Regions from separate parts of the Homo sapiens genome. Here region 1 is linked to region 2. The links are contacts of gene promoters, found by promoter capture Hi-C in human tissues and cell types (Jung and others, 2019). All regions are on one chromosome and are shown on one strand. Each heading gives the region's core, a stretch centred on a gene start or on the middle of the fragment in contact. The rest is flanking DNA. Distances are from core to core; before and after follow the strand shown. Region 1 overlaps CLSPN-DT (CLSPN divergent transcript). Region 2 holds the start of AGO3 (argonaute RISC catalytic component 3).

Evidence for each region. The method cuts DNA at HindIII sites, captures the fragments that hold promoters and counts their contacts. A contact is called where the count stands out against the background at its distance.
Region 1: a fragment that was not itself captured here is called in contact with the fragment with the promoter of AGO3 in region 2 in 1 of the 25 tissues and cell types used here (mesenchymal stem cells).

Annotation. Positions count from the first base shown.
Region 1 is chr1:35,786,470-35,789,185 of GRCh38, reverse strand. All of the region lies in intron 2 of CLSPN-DT (CLSPN divergent transcript), which reads right to left. Among named protein-coding and RNA genes, the nearest start is that of CLSPN-DT, 18 kb to the right of the region's middle. The HindIII fragment of the contact is 5,779 bases long and covers 1-2,716 here.
Region 2 is chr1:35,929,779-35,932,805 of GRCh38, reverse strand. It overlaps AGO3 (argonaute RISC catalytic component 3), which reads right to left and starts at 1,701. Exons shown (of 19, transcript NM_024852.4): 1 at 1,361-1,701. The coding sequence starts at 1,379. AGO1 (argonaute RISC component 1) reads right to left here. Exons shown (of 19, transcript NM_012199.5): 19 at 2,274-3,027. RefSeq lists enhancers at 514-1,036, 1,037-1,561, 1,562-2,085 and silencers at 1,199-1,538, 1,549-2,058. The HindIII fragment of the contact is 14,720 bases long and covers 1-3,027 here.

The sequences.
Region 1 (2,716 bases), core at 143-2,642, 140 kb after region 2:
TTTATTGGTCGGGCGCGGTGGCTCACGCCTGTAATCCCAGCACTTTGGGAGACCGAGGTGGATGGATCACAAGGTCAGGAGTTCGAGACCAGCCTGGCCAACATGGTGAAACCCCATCTCTACTAAAAATACAAAAAAATTAGCCAGGTATGGTGCTGTGTGCCTGTAATCCCAGCTACTCAGGAGGCTGAGGAAGGAGAATTGCTTGAACCTGGGAGGCGGAAGTTGCAGTGAGCCAAGATTGTGCCACTACACTCCAGCCTAGGGGACAGAGAGAGACTCTGTCTCAAAAAAAATTATTAATAAGTTGACATTTATTAAGATGAGGGAGACTTTAGTAGATACAGATTCTTGGAGAGAAGATTGGTAATATATTTTGGGTTTTTGTTTTGTTTTGTTTTGACACAGTGTGTTACTCTGTCGCCCAGGCTGAAGTGTAGTGGCATGATCTCAGCTCACTACAACCTCTGCCTCCCAAGTTCAAGCATTCACCTGCCTCAGCTCCCCCAAGTATCTGGGATTACAGGCATGCACCGCCACACCGGGCTAATTTTTGTATTTTTAGTAGAGACGGGGTTTCACCATGTTGGCCAGACGGGTGTCGAACTCCTGACCTCAGGTGATCTGCCCACCTTGGCCTCCCAAAGTGCTGGGATTGATTACAGGCATGAGCCACCACTCCCGGCCAGTAATATATTTTGAACACATTAGTTTTGAGGTGCCTGTAAGGTCACCAAGTGGAGAGGCTGAGTACGCATAGAGATATACAGTCTGGAGTCAGAAGATAAATTGCTCTAAAAATATACATTTGGGAGTCAACTGCATATAAAGAATATTTAGGGCCACGAGGCTGATAAGCTTACTAAAAGAGTGAGTGTAGATGGAGAAAAGAAGAGGTCCTTGTGTCCTGGGCATTGCAACATGTAAAGGTCAAGGAGGTGAGGGAGATCCAGCAAAGGTGATTGGAGAGGATCAGCCAGGGAGGTAGAAGGAAGAGAAGAGTGTGGGAAACCCCAGAAACAAAGGGAGTTACATGTTCTATTAGTCTTTTTCTTTTTCTTTTTCTTTTCGTCTCCCTCATTTATTTTCGGGCTTTCCTTAAAAGTCTGGTGATCCTTTTTTGTCCATTCACATCAAAGAGGTAGGTATTAAAAGACTGATTTGAATTCTGTATCTATGTATGAGGTTTGTCCGTTGGTAGCTTTTCATAATGGAAGCCCCAACTTTAGGTCATTTCTCTGGGGCTGTTTAGTTTCTCCTGAAAATTCCCCCATTTGCATGCCTAGGGAGGGAGCAGCCTAGCCACCAGGATAAGGAGACTGTGGGGGCTGGGGTAGGAATGGACAGAGAAGGGTGTGTCTCATGGTTCAATATGTAGACTTCCAGTGGCTCGCTCTCTCTCTTAAGGCTCCCCTTTGGTTCAGTTGCTCCACAGACTAAACCTCTAGACTCCTGCCAGACTCCTGAAAGGTTCTAGATCATAGAGGGCTCTAGAGGCTACCTAATCCTTATAGAGACTTCCTTTTTTTTTTTTTTTTGAGACGGAGTCTCGCTCTGTCACCCAGGCTGGAGTGCAGTGGGGCGATCTCGGCTCACTGCAAGCCCCGCCTCCCGGGTTCACGCCATTCTCCCGCCTCAGCCTCCCGAATAGCTGGGACTACAGGCGCCTGCCACCATGCCCGGCTAATTTTTTTTTTTTTTTTTTGTATTTTTTTTTAGTAGAGACGGGGTTTCAGCGTGTTAGCCAGGGTGGTCTCGATCTCCTGACCTCGTGATCCACCCGCCTCGGCCTCCCAAAGTGTTGGGATTACAGGCGTGAGCCACCGCTCCCGGCCTAGAGACTTTCAACCAATCCTCTTGTCTTTCACCCATTCTTCTTCCTGGGTTCCTGGATCCCCTAGTATTTGAGCCTAGCTGGAATTCTGTGGCAGGAAATGGCTAGCTTCTCATGAGCACCACCTCTGCAGACACTTGGTATACAGCTTTCTCACCACAGCTGATTTTTCCACTTAGCTTTCCATCTTCTCATCCTCTGATGTTTTTCTCCCACTCTCTTTGTTCTTGTGGGTTTATTCTGGTTTTATTCATTTGCTCTCATTTTTTCTGGGGCTCCAGGAAAGGAGATAAATATATGTGTTCAAACCACCGTTGTTCCTCCTTCACAGGAGGAATCAAATATCCAGATTATCAAATATCCAGCAATTTTTAAAGTTCTGGGACCACAATTTCAGGAAAGATATAAGCTCTTCCCTGTAGAAGCCACATTCCTTGGAGTTCTTGGTACTTCTGGAGCTCCACAGTATTCCTTGTTTTCTTTTTCCCAGAGGCTAGAAATGGTCCAGAAGCATTTCTGCCTGGTCCATCCATCTGTTTTCCAGCTATCTGACTGTGGAGGCATGTCCTACTTCCCGAGGAGCCAACTGAGGTTGTCTCCTCCCTGTTGCCAAGCCTTATGTGTCTGAGATCCACATAGCAGAAATATATGTACAACTGTATTAAGTCCTTAAAGTGAGGGTAGTTAGGAAAAGTCATCTTTAAGTTATATGGAGAAAATATTTGGAAACTTTGGGCTGAGAACGTGTGTATGGAGTGGGTGAAGGCAATTTGGGCCACAAAGCTTTTTTTTTTTGAGACAAGGTCCCTCTCTGTCACCCACGCTGGAGTGCAGTGTCGCCATCTCAGCTCACTGCAACCTCTGACCCCTCAGGGTCAAGTG
Region 2 (3,027 bases), core at 452-2,951:
CTATGGTCCCAAATAATCACATCTCCTGTACAGTAAAACAGTAGTATGGTAATTTTTTTAAAAGGGCAGGACAGTTTCAGAAATACACAAATCAAAACTGAATAAGAGTCGAAATCTTTTCACAATCCAGACAGACCTTTTAAGACGATATGGGGGAAAGCGAAACAATGGAGCAGGAAAAAGAGATATGGTCTAAATTGATTAGAGAAACTTCCATGTAACAAAATTTGTAAAAAAAAAAAAAAAAAATTTGTAACTCTCTCCCCATCTCATCTCCCCAGTTTGAGTGCTTTTTTGCAACCATTTGACACGTAATCTATTCAACAAAGTTCTTAGCTATCGTTATGTCACTGGTTTCTTTTACGTAAGTTTTTCTTATATCAAATTGGCAAAAAGAGATATGGAATTCAGGAACTTGTAACACCATTAGTAACAAGACAGCCCCGCAAATATTTTGAAAATTAATTTACGAACTTGTGATCGTCTGAAGCATACTTTCAAATTTAATAAGCCAAGCATGATCATTTGTTAGGCAAACCGTTATGCAACACCTTTCTGTCCCTGAATTAATTACTTTAGAACCATAAACAATACTTTTCCTTTTTTAAGGACAAGTACTATCCATGTTGCAATTTTCTCTTAAGACTGCAAAACTGCTGCTCTTGCCCCCAGAGATAAAGCAGTTTTCTTAAATTCCAAATTTCCAGGAATATGACAACTACTTCTCTAAGGAATAGAGAATGAAAAAAAATATACTGTCAGCAATTTTAAGAACCACCTCCTCGTATAAGCAGGGATCCAGGCTGCTATGACATTTCCAAGCTCCTCAGAAACTATCTACCATGCTGCCACAAACAACAGAAAAGAACTCGAGGGTAGGAGCAATGCCATGTTGAATTTAACGTTGCACCAACACCTCCTTCGAACTTAATCTGAAGTTATCCGTTATCTCAGCCTATCTTCACAACTATCCTAAGAGGTAGGTAAGGGAGCTGGCTGGCTGCCCAGCCTCTACGGAACACACAACCTGGCTAAAGGACACGCACTCCAACTAGACAATGGCAAACCATTCTAAAGTCTAGAAGAAGGGTACTCCAGCAAAGAGTAATGCCGCCTAGATAACCCCAAACTTAAATCCTCCAAGCGTTTCCCCGCCTCGCAGTTTCGCCGACTCAGGGGCCCCCGGGGAACTGGGGCTGGGCTGCGGGGAGGTCGCGGAGGAGCAGGGCGAGGGGCGGGAGACCGAGCGATGCCCGCCCGACGCTCACCTCGCGCACCTGGGCCGGGCGGGAGGAGCAGGGATGCTCAGAGGACAGTAGCTGGGTGACATCCCCTACCTGGCCCAGCTACTCTGACTCACCTGCGGAGCCGATTTCCATTCATGGAGCTGGGGGGAGTGCTTCGAGGGAGAACGGAGCCCGCCACTGGCGGCAAGGAGGCGGCCCGGGGGGCGACGCGGCGCGACGCGACGGGCACTCTCACTCGGCCCCGAGGCGGGGGCGGCGACGGCTTCCCCTGAGCAACCGCACTCCGAAAGCTCTGGGCCGGAAGAGTCGCGGACGGAAAACGGCACAGGACTAGGCGAGAGGAAGGGGAGATGTGAGGCGCGGACAGAGGGGAGTCCCGTCCGGAAGTTGCATCGCCCGCGGCCGCCGACGCTCCCACCGCTCCTCCACGACTGCGGGCCGCCGCCGCCGACCTGCCCGGGGCCGCCCCGGAAGCTCGCCGGCGTCAGTTCCGCTGCCTGGCTTGCCCGGCGTCCTCGCCTCGCCTCTGGGCCCCGAGCCGTGCCGGAGCGACGTCGGGGCAGGAGCGGCCGGCGCGGAGGACGCCGGGGAGGTGTCCGGGAGCCGGGCCACATGCGGCGGGCTCGGCCGTACCCCGCCGGGCCGTGCCGGCCGGAGACAACGCGGAGGGGCAGGACTACTCGCGCCGCACGAGTGGGGGCGGTGCCTGTCTGCGACGACGTCGCGGCTGGCGGCGGGGCTTACCTGAGGAGTAGCCTACCTGGAGCCGGCGGGTGAAGGACCCCGAACTGCCGCGGAGGCCCCGAGCCGAGCCCGCTGGGGTAGGGCCACCCTCCTTCCTGAGCCCCCGCCACGCCCAGTCCGATCCACCCCACGCGCCGCCTCCTCACAGGCGGTCAAGTGACCACCGCAATTGACCTAAGTCCTAGGCTGCTTTAACGACCATTTTTAGGAAAAAAAAAATGTATTATAGTTTGGAAAAGATGACTAACAAACAGGACACTACACAAACATCAGATCGAGTAATTTCCATGTTTAAAACTCTTTAATAGCGCCTCGTCACACTTGAAAACCCAAACTCCTTTCCAGGGTGAAAACGCACGGCGTAAATGGGCCCCGCCTGTGCTACAGCTATACTGGTTGGCTTCCAATTCTCCCAACGGGCCAACCGCTGCTTTTTTCTGACTTGGAGCTTCTCTGCTTTTGGTTCCCTTGGCCAGGAACCCTCTCTCTCTTCTCCACCCTCCCCTTACGCCCTACCCCACAGCTTTTTTTTGCGTCTCAACGAAAGACATCTGAGACGCCTTTTCCGGACCACCCATCTATGGTGGGGCACCTGTTAGTCTACTACAGTATTGCCTTGGTAGCCCTTTGCCCAGTCTGTTATTTATTTACTACTTGTGTGCCCCCCACCTCACTTGAATGTCAGGCAAATATTAGGTCCTTAATAAATATTTGTTGCCTTAATGAAACATACTATTTTATTCAGGCTGAGGAATCATTCATAATTTCTCCCCATGTCCCTATGCTTCAGTAATACGGTTTTTTTTAATCAAAATAATTTTTTAAAGAGGAAAAGGAGAAAGAATATCCTATCTTCAGTTCCCCTCACTGTGGGACTTTGGATCAGTCACTTGATCTCTCTGGGCTTCAATTTTCTTATCTGAAAAATTGAGAGAACAGCATGTACCTTACACAGTTTGTAAGGTTAGGTAATATACATAAAGCACAGAGAAAATCCTCCCCAAATGTTAGTGAATAACACAAGTATTTACTATTT